2 separate regions of the Homo sapiens genome follow, and region 1 is linked to region 2. The links are contacts of gene promoters, found by promoter capture Hi-C in blood cells and fetal thymus (Javierre and others, 2016). All regions are on one chromosome and are shown on one strand. Each heading gives the region's core, a stretch centred on a gene start or on the middle of the fragment in contact. The rest is flanking DNA. Distances are from core to core; before and after follow the strand shown. Region 1 has its middle 56 kb from the start of XAGE1B. Region 2 holds the start of GPR173 (G protein-coupled receptor 173).

Region 1 (3,650 bases), core at 729-3,228, 480 kb before region 2:
ATGCCTTTTTCAGACCAAGCATCCATCATGCAGTGATGGCAACTATCTTGGTTTCCTTGGACAGCTGTTAGCATTTTTGCTACTAGTACAATCAGGTTTAGACTATGCACGGGCATCCTCCTGGGCAGCAAGTTCGACAGCAATTGCAAAGGTAACATGACAGTAAGACAATTAGTACAAGCAAAAGAATAACTACACTGGCAAATTCTATCCACATTTACTTATCTGGCACTGGCTTCCTCAGGCTTCGGCCATGTGTAGACTACTCAGCTTCCGGTTGTGTGACTAGAGCAAGGTTTGGTGTTTCTTCAAGCTTCAGCCATACATGGACCGACCAGCCTCCAGTGTGGTCGGAGCAGGGCAGTCGTCCTTCTCTGACGCACCTTGGTCTTTCTGCAAGATCAGTCCAGCTGGATTATCTGGATCTTGCTTACTTGTCCACCAGTCTGGAGCTGGGGCTGCAGGTTTCAGCAGGCTATGATGAACCCAAGGTGTGATACCTGCAACTTTAACAGTGGTAGGGGTAGACATGATTGTTGTGGGAAGTCAGGAACCCCGAATGGAGGGACTGGCTGAAGCCATGGCAGAAGAACATGGATTGTGAAGATTTCATGGACATTTATTAGTTCCCCAAATTAATACTTTTATAATTTCTTACGCCTGTCTTTACTGCAATCTCTGAACATAAATTGCTAAGATTTCATGGACACTTATCACTTCCCCAATCAATACCCTTGTGATTTCCTATGCCTATCTTTACTTTAGTCTCTTAATCCCATCATCTTCGTAAACTGAGGAGGATGTATGTCACCTCAGGACCCTGTGATGATTGCTTTAACTGCACAAATTGTTTGTAGAGCATGTGTGTTTAAACAATATAAAATCTGGGCACCTTGAAAAAAGAACAGGATAACAGCAATGTTCAGGGAACAAGAGAGATAACCTTAAACTCTGACTGCCGGTGAGCCGGGCAGAACAGAGCCATATTTCTCTTCTTTCAAAAGCAAATGGGAGAAATATCACTGAATTCTTTTTCTCAGCAAGGAACATCCCTGAGAAAGAGAACGCATCCCTGAGGGTAGGCCTCTAAAATGGCCGCTTCAGGGGGCGGCCATCTTTTATGGTCGAAGCTGTAGGGATGAAATAAGCCCCAGTCTCCTGTAGCGCTCCCAGGCTTATTAGGACGAGGAAATTCCCACCTAATAAATTTTGGTCAGACCGGTTGTCTGCTCTCAAACCCTGGCTCCTGATAAGATGTTATCAATGACAACGCGTGCCCAAAACTTCATTAGCAATTTTAATTTCGCCCTGGTCCTGTGGTCCTGTGACCTCGCCTTGTACACTCCCTCCCCTTTTGAAAATCACTAATAAAAACTTGCTGGTTTTACGGCTCAGGGGGCATCATGGAACCGGCTGACATGTGATGTGTCCCCCGGACACCCAGCTTTAAAATTTCTCTCTTTTGTACTCTGTCCCTTTATTTCTCTCTTTTGTACTCTGTCCCTTTATTTCTCAGACCGGCTGACACTTAGGGAAAATAGAAAAGAAACTACGTGAAATATTGGGGGTGAATTTCGCCTGATATCTGGCTGAATTTCCCCCGATACATGATCACAACATGGGGGCCATCCCATAAAGGCCTGAGGGTGATGGGGTTCCAACGTTTAACCCATACAGAGTCTCTGGGTTGAAAGGGTTGTACTGCATCTGTAAGACTAACAGGTATTCTCTGTCTTACCCACCCTTGTACTTCTTGCATTACTTCACCTAATGCCTGCATTTGTCTCCTTAGAGTTAGTTCTCCTATTTCTTTTAAATCTCCTCTTATTTGAGCTATGAGTTGGGGTGGTCGGCCATACACTATCTCATAGGGTGAATACCCAGTTAATTTAGTGGGGGTACACCTGACTCAGAGAAGGACCATTGGCAACACCTGATCCCACCTTAAATGAGTTTCCTGGCAAAACTTCTTCCACAGTTGTTTCAGTGTTTGGTTCATCCTTTCAACTTTTCTGGAACTCTGTGGATGATAGGCAGTACGCAGCTTCCGTTTAACATTTGGGTTAACTGCTGCACTACTTCTGCCACAAAGGCTGGTCTGTTATCTGAGCCTAAAGTTAGTGGCAGTCTAAATCTAGGAATAATGTCTTTTAGTAGTATCCTGGTTACTTCTCGAGCCTTCTCTGTTCTGGTGGGAAATGCTTCAACCCACCTTCAAAAGGTGCAGACTAACACTAACATGTACTGATAGTCTCCAGCCCAAGGCAGCTGGGTAAATTCTACAAGCAGGTTTTCACATGGCAACTGCTCCTGTTTCTTGAATTCCTGGGGGCCGAGTGGGCCCTTGTCTGGGGTTATTTTGAGCACATATGACACATTGCTCGCAGATGGCTCCTGTGACGGCAGTCAGGTGTGGTACAAAGAAGTATCACCCTACAAGAGTTTCTAAGGCTGTCTTCCTTATCTGTGTTCCTTGGTGAAGTTGCTTTATAAGTCGAGGGGCGACGGCTTCTGGGATGGCAAGCCTCCCGTCTGAAAACTTCCACCAGCCTCCTTTCTTTGATAATCCCCGTTTTCCTGTGCGAACCATGCCTTTTCACTGGAGGTGTAGTTAGGAGTTTCTGCAAGGGGAGGTTCTAATAAGGGCATGACATAAGTCTCTCTTTTTTCTGTCATTTTTGTTATTGCAGCCCTTTTTGCTTCCCTGTCTACTTTCCTGTTTCCTGTAGCCTCATTACTTCCTCCTGTTTGATGTCCATTACAATGAATTAATGCTACTTTCTTTGGAGTCCATACTGCCTCTAGGAGCTGCTCTATTTCTTTTTTGTTCTTTATTTCTTTCCCTTCAGTAGTTAACAGTCCTTTCTCCTTGTAGATGGCTCCATGAGCATGCAAGGTAGCAAAGGCATATTTTGAGTCAGTATAGATATTCACTGACTTTCCTTTTGCTAGAAGTAGCGCTCTTATGAGAGCTATTAGTTCTGCCTTCTGTGCAGAGGTTCCTACTGGTAAAGGGCAGGCCTCAGCGACTGAGTTCAGTGTGGCTACTGCATATCCAGCCTTTCTGATACCTTCGGATATGAAGCTACTTCCATCAGTAAAATACTCTATGTCTGGGTCCTTTAGGGGCTGGTCTTTTAGGTCTTTCCGGCTTGAAAAGACTTCATCTACTGTTTCTACACAGCAATGATACCCTGGGGCACATAACGGGGGCTTCCCATGCTCTGCATATTCTATTGGCAGAAGTGTAGCCAGATTTAGGGTGTTTACAGTCTCTAAGGTGATGTATGGATTTTCACACAGGAGCCATTGGTATCTCAGCATTCTAGGGTTAGAGAGCCAACGATGTCCTCCTCTCTGTTCCATCAGGGTGACAACTGTATGGGGCACCTGAATTATCAACTTCTGTCCAAAAGTGAGCTTGTTAGCATCCTCAGCTAACAGAGCAGTGACAGCCAGCACCTTGAAACGGGGCGGCCATCCTGTGGCCACCCAGTCCAGTTGCTTGGACAGATATGCTACAGGTAGATACCATGACCCTAACATTTGCACCAAGACTCCTGTGGCCATCTCCTTTCTTTCATGAACATACAGATAAAAGGGCTTTGTCAAGTCTGGCAACCCGAGTGCCAGAGCTTGAATTAAAGCTT
Region 2 (3,597 bases), core at 657-3,156:
ACCACAGGTGCGCACCACCACGTTCTGCCAATTTTTGTATTTTTAGTAGAGACAGGGTTTTGTCATGTTGGCCAGGCTTTTCTCAAACTCCTGAGCTCAAGCAATCTGCCTGCCTTGGCCTCACAAAGTTCTGGCATTACAGGCGTGAGCCCGTGCCCAGCCCGTTTTGCCTTTTTTTGTTTGTTTTTCGAGACAGAGTCTTGCTCTGTTGCCCAGGCTGGAGTGCAGTGGTGAGAACACAGCTCACTGCAGCATCCTGGGCTCAAGTGATCCTCCCACCTCAGCCTCCCAAGTAACTGGGACTACAGGCGCACACCACCATGTCCAGATAAGGTTTAAATTTTTTATAAAGACGGGGTCTCAATATGTTGTCCCGGGTGGTCTCAAACTCCTGAACTCAAGCAATCCTCCTGCCTTGGCCTCCGAAAGTGCTGGGATTACAGGTATGATCCACTACACCCGGCCTCCAAAACATTTTCTAATTTTCCATGGATTTTTCTCCCTCCCCAAAGCATGTGGGCATAAAAATGACCACCGGAGGGCCTTGTCAAAAGGCAGGTTTTGAAGCCCCATCTGAAAACCTCCTAGATTAGTATTTCTGGGAGGTAGGCTTGGGTATCTACACTTTACAAGTTCTCCAGGGGATTCAGATGCAAGTGGGTTCCAGGTCCACAGTCTGGTAGCAGAGCCTGCATTTCCTAAGGGCAGAGAGCATAGGTCTGAGTCACCCGGTACTGTTAGTGCCCAGCACTGGGCCTAACATAAAACCATTTGTCATAAATGAAGGAACCAATGGATGAAGGAAGAAAGGAAATAAAACACAATTTCTTATATCAAGATAATTTGAATTCTTGAATGCTGTAACTTAGGGGAACCACTGAAGCATCATTTGGTCCCAATTTAATCATATTTGAAACAAATATTTTTTTCCTTGTCTTCATATCTCTGCCTACCAAGCGTTCTCCTCACCTCTCCTATTCTGTTGTCCTGGGACATGGCTTTAAGTATGGGTTCTGCCTGTCTGCTGGCCCCGAGAAAGTGGGGATGGCACAGGAGATATCCTGAGAGGGGCTGTTCAGAGTTGGGCAGCGCTCCTTTCCCACCCCAACCCCCCAGCCAACCTCCAGGCCTTGCAGGGAAAATGCCCATAGAACCCCATTCTAAATCAGTTTATGAATCCCACCTCTCCGGGCCCTAAGCATGCCTCCCAGCCCAAAGCTTTTGAGAAACTTTCGCCGGACCTTTGTCCCGACCCAGATCCTAGCGTCCTCTATGCCCTGCCTCCTCTGCACTTGTAGCCCATGTGAGTTGCTCTCTCAGCAGCCTCTTGGCCATCTCTCCCCACCTCCACTCATGCCTCTCTCGAGCATCTCAGAAAGGCCCGAGCCTGACTTCCCCAGCCAGCTATTGTCCTGGCAGCACAGCCGCCACGCCAGCGTCCCCACCCAGTCAGCCAGCCGGCTGCTCCCTGGCCTCGCCAGCACCCCCCGCCCCCCCCCCCGCTCCCCGCCCCGCCCCAGGGAGGACCAGGCTGGCAGCTGGGAGTCTCCCTGCCTGCTCAGCCTTCCTCCTTCCCTCCCTCTCCCTCCCTGCCTCCCTCCTCCTCCGCCCGCCCCTGAGGCAGGGACCGTGCAAATCGAGGAGAGGGGGGACGGACAGGCCTGATGGGGTCCAGCTTAGGGCCCCGGACTCCCCACTGATGCTCTATCCAGGCTGGGTGTCCCCAGCATCGTGGGACCTGGATTTGTGTGCACCGGGGTGGTTCCCAGGCCAGGAGGGTCCCTCTGGCAGGCCCTTGGTGCCCTCGTTTTGCATGAGGACCCCCCTCGGATGCTCTGAGCCACCCTCCTCAACCCGGATCTAAAACCCGGGACACGGCTATCAGGCCAGCCTCTCTCTCCACCCCACCCCCTCTTTCTGGCGTCCATCCCCTCCCCAACACCACCTCTGCTGCTGCCTCTGGCTGTGGACCTGCACCTCTTCCCCATCCCCGCCAGGCCCGGGGAGCGGGGTGAGCCTGGATGAGAGCCCCCCCAACCTGGGGCTCTCCCAGGCCATGGCCCGTGTGCTCCCAGGGAGGAGCCCCGGACCCTGAGCATCTGCTGGAGGCTTGGCAGAGGCCCCGCGGGGACCGTGTCTTCTGAGGACAAAAGGCGGCGGCCAGCAGGCAGACGGAGGGGGGGGGTGGGGGGTGGGGGGGGTAGGGGGACCGGCAGCCAGGCAGGCAGACGGGTAGCAGGGGCCAGCACTGGCCCCCCTCCCAGCTTGGCAGTGGCATGAAGATGGGAGTGGGAGTGTATAGTGGAGGAAGCACCTGCCGGGACCCCCACCTGCCAGCTAGTTGGACACCCCAAGGCTGTGTGCTGCCCACCTGGTGTTCCCCAACACCCCCAGCCCTACCCAGTGCACCCCTCCGGTGCCTGCTTTCCCTGATGCCTGCGATTTAGACCAGCCCGGCTGTATCCACGGCAACAGAAGCAGGAGTGTCACTGGCCGCCAGATCACTGAGGGTCCCACAATGTGGCCCGGGCTGTGATTTACCTGGGTGAGACAGCTTGAGCCCCATCGTGGATTCCAAGACATCCCTGCTGAGAGAGCCAAGGTAAGCAGTCAGCATCCCTCCACCAAGGATGGGGGGCTGGGACTTCTGTTCTGTCTCCCCACACATACTTCAGAGTCTCCATCACTGCCATGCTCTCTGTCTCTGTCTGACTCTGTTAGTCTCTTTCTGCTCCATCAAGGGGCTCCTTGGTACCCAAGCCTGGGGACTCCTCATCTTCCCCCCATCTTCCCCAATCCCAAATGTCCCATGAGAAAGGGAACCACCACCTGTTTCCCCTCACAGGGTCTGTTTTTATCATCATGGTTGCGTTTGGGCATGAGGCTGTGTTAATCTTTCCTTGTGTGCTGGCTGTGGAAGGGATGCCTGGGAGCCCGGCGGCCGTGTTCCCTTCACAATGCCTGCACCCTGGGCAGGCTCAGCCTCTTGCGGCTGCTCCTCTCCCTCTCCCTCCTCCTCCACTCTCCTCCAGGATCCCTGGCCTGCTGGCCGGGTGTGTGTGTGTGTGTGTGTGTGTGTGTGTGTGTGTGTGTGCACCTGGGTAGCAAGCAGGTGGGTAGACATGACAGAGAAGCTGCTCCCAGCCCAGACCATCCCCCACTCCTTCTTTCCTCCTTTCCTTCCTTCCTTCCTTCCACCCTCCCCACCTCCCCATCTCTCCCTACAGGTAGCAGAGTTTTGCTCACTCACCACTGAAGATGTTGCCGATTCCCAGCTAGGGGGAGGAAGTCACTGTAGGGCTAAAGGACAGTGAAGTGGTGGTGGGGAGCACTTCCAGGCCCTAGGCTGCCTGATGGTTCTGTGGGGGCAAAGACCAATCCCATGACAACCTGCAGGGGCCAGGAACAACATGGTTGTCCCTACAGTGTGGGACCCAGCCTCCACCACAAGGCTCTCTGTCTCTGTTTCAGATGTCCATGTTGTGTCTGAGACCCCCCGGATCTTGTGGCCTTGTGCCCAGTAGCCGGAGGTCCATATATCTGGAAGGGCAGGAAAGCCTGGTACATGGAGAACATGGATCCTCCCAGGGACACTTC

What was found. The method cuts DNA at HindIII sites, captures the fragments that hold promoters and counts their contacts. A CHiCAGO score of 5 or more calls a contact.
Region 1: a fragment that was not itself captured here is called in contact with the fragment with the promoter of GPR173 in region 2 in 1 of 17 cell types (M2 macrophages); the score reaches 5.2 in M2 macrophages.

What each region holds. Positions count from the first base shown.
Region 1 is chrX:52,570,795-52,574,444 of GRCh38, forward strand. No RefSeq gene overlaps it. Among named protein-coding and RNA genes, the nearest start is that of XAGE1B, 56 kb to the left of the region's middle. The HindIII fragment of the contact is 3,334 bases long and covers 312-3,645 here.
Region 2 is chrX:53,046,883-53,050,479 of GRCh38, forward strand. GPR173 (G protein-coupled receptor 173) reads left to right here and starts at 1,907. Exons shown (of 2, transcript NM_018969.6): 1 at 1,907-2,602. The HindIII fragment of the contact is 17,268 bases long and covers 1,217-3,597 here.